Regions from separate parts of the Homo sapiens genome. Here region 2 is linked to region 1. Evidence: promoter capture Hi-C in 16 types of primary human blood cells and fetal thymus (Javierre and others, 2016). All regions are on one chromosome and are shown on one strand. The core of a region is centred on a gene start or on the middle of the fragment in contact, and the rest is flanking DNA. Distances in the headings are between cores, read along the strand shown. Region 1 holds the start of IFITM10 (interferon induced transmembrane protein 10). Region 2 has its middle 6.8 kb from the start of H19.

Region 1 (3,563 bases), core at 1,020-3,519:
GGGGCTGGTGCCAGCCTTCCTCTGCAGCTGACCTCTGTTGTCCTCCCCTTGGGCGGCTGAGAGCCCCAGCTGACATGGAAATACAGTTGTTGGCCTCCGGCCTCCCCTCTGTGCTGGTGTGCTCTTGTGCCTGGTCAGGGGTGGCTCCAACTTGGGATGGGGAAGGAGGGTGGGTAGTGCGAAGCCAGCACGGCAGCTGACTCGGCAGCACCGGGACAAGCATTTGGGGTGCCCCGGGCCTATGGCCCCCTGCCCTGCCCTGCCCAGCCCATGGGCTCCAGCCTGGTCGGCCAGCGGGGACTGACTTGTTCCCAGGTCTGGAGCAGTAGCCGGCAGGATGTGGCCTTGGCTGGGGTTTCAGGGTGTCTAGTGTGAGTGCCAGCCTTGAGGAGTGATTTCAGGGAGGTGGCCCAGCCAGGCAGCCACGGCACTCGAACAGAGGCTATTTCTGCTCTCGGGGACCCTCAGAGCAGGCCTACCAGTCACCCTCCTCAGCCCTCTTGTCCCGGGAAATAAATGGCCCCAGGTGGCGTGGGGGGGCTGGCCTAGCTGGGCCTTCTTGCCTCCCAGGCCCTAGAAGCGGTTTTGTGTGCAGTGAGCTGAGCTGGCACCAAGCAAGCCTGCCCAGGGTCCCTGGTTGCAGGGATTGGACTCAGAAGTCCCCTCCAGCCACAGCTGCCACAGTCACGGATCCCCGGGCTGATAACGCGGTGCGCTTGTTCCGCTGGGAGGGGAGGGGTTGGGAGCGTGTGCCCGGATGCAGTGGTAGCAGCCCCTGGGGTTCTAATAGGTAAGTAGGAGTTTGTGGGCATGTGGTGGTGGGAGCAGAGTTCCTTTTGGGATCAGTAGCTCTGGAGTCACTTAGAGCCCCCTCGAGCCCCACCCCAACAGGTTAGAAGATGAGGCAGATGTGACATTTGCCATTATCTTGATGCCTCTGCCTGAGGGTGGTGGCTGCCTTGGCCTTCCTCCCAAGGGGCTGCAGGGCTTTCACCCCAGAGCCATGCTACGGCAGACACCTGGAGCAAGAACATTTACCCAGGGTGGCACGGAGGCTTGGAAACACATGCCTGGCGTTTGGCATGCCTGAAATCTGAGCAGAGCTGGGCAGAACTCTGCAGGGCCTGGCAGGGCTTCTGGGGAGACAAATGTCCTGTCATCAGATGCTTTGTGCACTGAGGCCTGGGAGGGCAGAGAGGTACAAGGAGGCAGCCATACCCTGTTGTCCCTGCCCTGTCCCACTCTCCCCATCTCCCTCCTTCTGCAGCTTGTCAGCTCCGTCCAGCTCCCATCTTCATGGCTGCTGCCCTGGGGTTGCTCCGAGGGCTCCCTCCAGCCCGGCAGGATTCTCGGGGCCCTGGAGTCTGACCCCGGGTTCCTCCGTGGTTTTCTAGCTGGTGACTGGACCCTGAGCCTGGAGTCCCCCCCTGTCTAGACTGTGGGTTGTAACCAGAAACCCCTAGCAAAGGGGAAGCTGGAGCCCAGGCCCTTGGGGAGCCCACCAACAGTCACATGAATGCTGGCTGTGCCAAGTTTGGCTCGGCCCTGGCTCTGCCCTGCGACCCCTGGCTCCCTCTCAGTGGTGTTTCCTGGCCTCAGAGGCAGCCCCAAGGTGGCCTGAGGCCGGGAGCAGGCCCTGGCTCCCCTGTCACCTACCCAGTGACCCTGGGCAGGCCCTGGACCCTCGGGCCCAGGCAACCCTCTCCTGCTATGGAGGCCTCCTCACTGCCTGAGGCCTTCAGGGCAAACTGGGGTGGGGCAGCACTGGGCAGAGGCTGTGTGGCAGGCCAGGGTCTCCCAGAAGGTGGTGGCTGGCCGGGTAAGCCCAGCTCAGATGCTGGGGAGACATGGGGGCATGGCACACAGGCCACACTCAGCCTGGGATCAGGCCCCGTCTGAGGACACCGGGTCCAGTTTTCCCTGGGCCAGGCCCTTGGAAAGGAGGAGGGAGTTGGGGAGGGAGAACGGAACCCTGGTTCTCCGACAGGCCCCATCCACCCACGGCCTGTGGGCTCCAGGGAGAGCATGGCCAGGGTGCCCAAGGAGACGAGGAGGAGGCTCCTCATGCTTCATGACCCCTCCTGCTCGTTAGGGTTTATCAACATCATTTAAGATCAGCCTTGTGCTGTGGGTTCCTGGCGTGCTGTGGATAACACTGTGCCCGGGTCAGCCCAGGCATGAGGGGCGGGGACTAGGCTGGAAAGAGGAGGGGCTTGCAGAGGGCTGGGCTTTTCCAGGGGATTAGGGTTCAGAACAGAGGTTTGGGGAGAGAAAGGGTTCAGAGTCAGGCACAGGCAGGCAGACAGGACCCCAAGCAGGACTGGCCTTCCAGACAGGAAAGAGGGTTGCGGAGACACAGGAGGCCAGTTGAGAGTGGCAGAGGAGAAAGGAGTTTCATGGGAGGATGGGGCTTGGAGAGAGATGAGGGAGGGAAAACGGGGGCCGCCATGCATCCTCAGCTTCCGGGGGACTTTGGAGAGGGTCGAGGCTCAGTGGGAGCTGGAGGTTGGTGAAGAGGACCCAGCTCAGGGAACCTGCGTGGTGAAGTGGGGGACTTGGAGGGAGGGAGGGAAGGCTGGAGTTTTCTCCATGGGGAGGAACTCATGGGGACTGTTATGGGGATGGAAGATCAGCTGGCGTCAAGCATACCGTGAGAGTGAGGATGTGGTGGGGTAGCGGAGGCGGCTGAGGCTGGGAGGACAGGCATTGGTCAGGAAAAATGATTCACAGGGAACAAAGTATCCTCAGGGGACCAGGCTCAGAAGGGCTGGTAGGGATCACAGAGAGGCTGTGGGCAGGTGAGTAAACCAGCCTCCAGGGAGACAAGTGTCCTTAGCAGCCAGGACCTCAGCACAGGACCAGAGCTCGGAACGGGACACTTTGCCCTGCGAGCAGATGGAGCATGACCTGGGGTCTGCGCAGGAGAGGCCACATTCTCCCAGACTCTGGGAGTGAACTGGAGTGGGGCCCCGGCTGGGTGAAGTCAGACTCCAGGAAAGGGGGCAGGAGCTCCGATGGGCAGGAGTGGGCTCAGCCAGGAAGGAACAGAGTAGGGGGTGCTGAAACTTACCGGAAGGCCTGGACTTGGTGGGCTAAGGAGGGAAGGGACTGGAGGGTGGTCTTGGGGGCCTTGTGGACTTGGTTAGGGACAGGATGGGGCAGAGACGGGCAGTCAGGTAGGGGGCCTGCTGGGGCTCAGGGGACTGGAGCTTCGTCAGGAGGGGACTGAGCTGCTGGAACTGAGAGTCAACAGGCCAGAAGGGCAGGACCCAGGGGCGGGGGTCCCTGGAGGCAGCAGGGCCCAGGCGCTGGGGTGGAGCGCCATGGGGAGAGTGGGAAGAGGAAGAGGGTCTCTCTTGGGGAGGCAGATGGGGAGGGTTCCGGGAGCGTCCAGTCTTCCACGGGGCTGGGGGCTCCGCGAGAGGGATGGGGCCGGGTGGGGTGGGGAGGAAGACGCAGTGGGTCCGGGGAGATGGAGGTGGCGCGGACACCCTGGTCGGGGGCTGTAGGGGTCCCATCCCTGCGGGACCTTGCAACTCCCCAGGGTCGCGGCTTCCGAGGCC
Region 2 (3,466 bases), core at 31-2,530, 250 kb before region 1:
GAGTCTGTTTAGTGCCTCTCCAGAAAAGACAAGTTGAAGCCCTGACCACCAGCATCTCAGAGCACGAACTCATTTGGAAATAGGGTCATTATAGACGCAATCGATCAGGTCAGACTGCAGTAGGGCAGGCCCTGAATCAAACATCATGGTGTCCTCACAGGTAGAGGAGAGGCACGAGAGAGCAACGCTGCGTGAAGGCGCAGGATGAGAGCATCCTGGAAGATGGGCACGGCTGGGGTGACAGGTCTGGGAGCCTGGGAACACTGGGAAAGTCGGCCAGCACTGGAGCCTCCCTTAGAGCTCGAAGAAGGAGCCAGCCCTGACCACCCCGACTCTGACCTTCTAGCATCGAAACAGGGAGAGACGCATTCCACGTGGTTGTTCCAATCAGCCCAGTTTCTGGGGCTTCCTTATGGCAGCCTCAGGGAACTGGCAAAGCCCAAGTGGGCTATCCCATTACTTATATCTGGGTAGGTCCCAGCCACAGGGGAGAGAGAAGAGAAAGCCCCTCTATCTAATGACACGCTGTACTCATGTCCCACCCGCATGATGTGCCGTACCCGTGTCCCTATCCAGGTGACGTGCCGTACCCGTGTCCCACCCGGGTGACGTGCCGTACCCGTGTCCCACCCGGGTGACGTGCCGTACCCGTGTCCCACCCGGGTGACGTGCCGTACCCGTGTCCCACCCGGGTGACGTGCCGTACCCGTGTCCCACCCGGGTGACGTGCCGTACCCGTGTCCCACCCGGGTGACGTGCCGTACCCGTGTCCCACCCGGGTGACGTGCCGTACCCGTGTCCCTATCCAGGTGACGTGCCGTACCCGTGTCCCACCCAGGTGATGTGCTATGCCCATGTCCCACCCAGGTGACACGCTATACCTGTGTCCCTATCCAGGTGACACGCTGTGCCATGTCCCTATCCGGGTGACACTGTGCCATATCCCTATCCAGGTGACACACAGTGCTCATGTGTCTATCTAGATGACAGCACCGTGCCCACATCTTTATCCCGGTGACAGCACTGTGCCCACGTCCTGTCTTGGTGACATCACTGTGGTTATATACCTGTCCATGTGACATCACTGTGCCCACATCTGCCTCCAGGTGACAGCGCTGTGCCCACATCCCCACCCAAGTGCTCTGGGCACCTTGGCTGGGGCTCTGGCCACTTTCATGTTGGTGCCACCCTGTGTGTGGATCATAGCACCCAGGCACTCACCATTACCGTGGCCAGCACAGACCAGACCCGACCCCAGTAGTCCTCAAAACTAGGTCCCCTGCTGGGTGCGGTGGCTCACGCCTGTAATCCCAGCACTTTGGGAGGCTGAGGCGGGCGGATCACAAGATGAGGAGATCGAGACCAACCTGGCTAACACGGTGAAACCCCATCTCTACTAAAAATACAAAAAATTAGCCGGGTGAGGTGGTGGGCGCCTGTAGTCCCACCTACTTGGGAGGCTGAGGCAGGAGAATGGTGTGAACCCGGGAGGCGGAGCCTGCAGTGAGCCGAGATCATGCCACTGCACTCCAGCCTAGGGGACAGAGCGAGACTCAAAAAACAAAAAAACAAACAAAAAAAAACTAGGTCCCCTGTGCTGTGCTGCTGTACCCCAGCAGTCGCTTCACTGGCAAGACTACTCTTAGCAGGTGCGCCTGGAAGCAGAAACTGGGCAGCTCCCGGTCTGTCCTATACACATGCAAATGCCCCATTAGAAAGCAAATAGCCCGAGGTGTTTGCCTGCTCCCAGGCAAAATCTCCCAAATCTTCCTCCGGGAATCAGTGAACAGAAGAGATGTCCATCACCCCCAGGAGAGTAGTGTCTGAACCCGTCTAACCGCCCAACAGGTTCTCCCTGCCGCCGGTCTGGACAGAGCTGCTTTATCACAACAGGTGACTTGCAATAAAGTTTAATTCACACAGAGTCGGCCGTGCAGGAGACCAGAGTTTTATTATTACTCAAATCAGTCTCCCAGGAAATTTGGGGATCAAAGTTTTTAAGGATCATTTGGTGGGTAGGGGGCGAGTCAATAGGGAGTGCTGATTGGTTGGGTCAGAGATGAAATCATGGAGAGTCAAAGCCATCTTTTTCTGCTGAGTCAGTTCCTGGGTGGGGGCCACAAGACTAGATGAGCCAGTTTATCAATCTGGGGGGTGCCAGCTGATCCACCCAGTACAGGGTCTGCGAAATATCTCAACCACTGATCTTAGGTTCTGCAACAGTGATGTAATCCTAGGAGCAATTTGAGGAGGTTAAAAATCTTTCAGCCTCCAGATGTGTGACTCCATGACTCCTAAACCATAATTTCTAATCTGTGGCTAATTTGTTAGTCCTGAAAGTCTAGTCCCCAGGCAGGAAGAGGGTCTGTCCTGGGAAAGGGCTGTTATTGTCTTTGTTTCAAAGATAAACTATAAACTAAGTTCTTCCCAAAGTTAGTCCAGCCTGCACCCAGAAATGAATAAGAAGGCAAGACAGAGTTGGTTACGTCAGATCTCTTTCATTGTCATAATTTTCTGTTATATATTTTTTTTTTTTTGAGACAGAGTTTCGCTCTTATCATCCAGGCTGGAGTCCAATGGCTCGATCTTGGCTCACTGCAACCTCCACCTCCGGAGTTCCAGTGATTCTCCTGCCTCAGCCTCCCAAGTAGCTGGGATTACAGGCGCCCACCACCATGCCCAGCTAATTTTTGTATTTTTAGTAGAGATGGGATTTCGTCAGGTTGGCCAGGTTGGTCTTGAACTCCTGACCTCAGGTGATCCACCCACCTCGGCCTCCCAAACTGCTGGGATTACAGGCATGAGCCACCACCGCCGGCCGATTTTCTGTAATAATTTTTGCAGAGGCGGTTTCACCAGGAGAACCAAGCATTAATGCGCTGTGGCTGATGTGTAGTAGAGCGGCATTTCCCAATGGGAGAACCCTGGGGCTGTCTAGGAGCCCATGCATGGCTGGGAGCCTAATCCCAGGGACACCACCGATGACAGCTCCCATAGCACGTAGGACAGTGGATACTTGGAGGCAAAGAGAAATCTCTGTTCTGCAGTGGTCATGACTTGGACCCCAAAGAACTTGAGCCCAAGGTCCAGAGGGAGACCCTCCCAACAGGGCCTCCAGCAGGAACAGGGATCGTGGGAGCCTGCCAAGCACAGCGCACAGGTATTTCTGGAGGCTTCCCATTCAGTCTTGGATGCCAGCCTCACCGAGGGCGGCCCATCTTGCTGACCTCACCAAGGGAGGCCCGTCTCACTGCCCTGATGGCGCAGAATCGGCTGTACGTGTGGAATCAGAAGTGGCCGCGCGGCGGCAGTGCAGGCTCACACATCACAGCCCGAGCACGCCTGGCTGGGGTTCACCCACAGAAACGTCCCAGGTCTCCCAGGCCAGGTGCCGCATTGGTTCCCGAGGGTTGTCAGAGATAGACACTCATGCGACTAACATCGGGCTATGTGTTTGATTCACCCC

The links. The method cuts DNA at HindIII sites, captures the fragments that hold promoters and counts their contacts. A CHiCAGO score of 5 or more calls a contact.
Region 2: a fragment that was not itself captured here is called in contact with the fragment with the promoter of IFITM10 in region 1 in 1 of 17 cell types (neutrophils); the score reaches 5.8 in neutrophils.

The regions. Positions count from the first base shown.
Region 1 is chr11:1,749,301-1,752,863 of GRCh38, reverse strand. It overlaps IFITM10 (interferon induced transmembrane protein 10), which reads left to right and starts at 2,269. Exons shown (of 3, transcript NM_001170820.4): 1 at 2,269-2,505. The coding sequence starts at 2,422. CTSD (cathepsin D) reads left to right here. Exons shown (of 9, transcript NM_001909.5): 9 at 1-109. RefSeq lists enhancers at 2,458-3,213, 3,214-3,563. The HindIII fragment of the contact is 9,148 bases long and covers 1-3,563 here.
Region 2 is chr11:2,002,864-2,006,329 of GRCh38, reverse strand. It overlaps a transcript of MRPL23 not described here. Among named protein-coding and RNA genes, the nearest start is that of H19, 6.8 kb to the right of the region's middle. The HindIII fragment of the contact is 6,201 bases long and covers 1-3,466 here.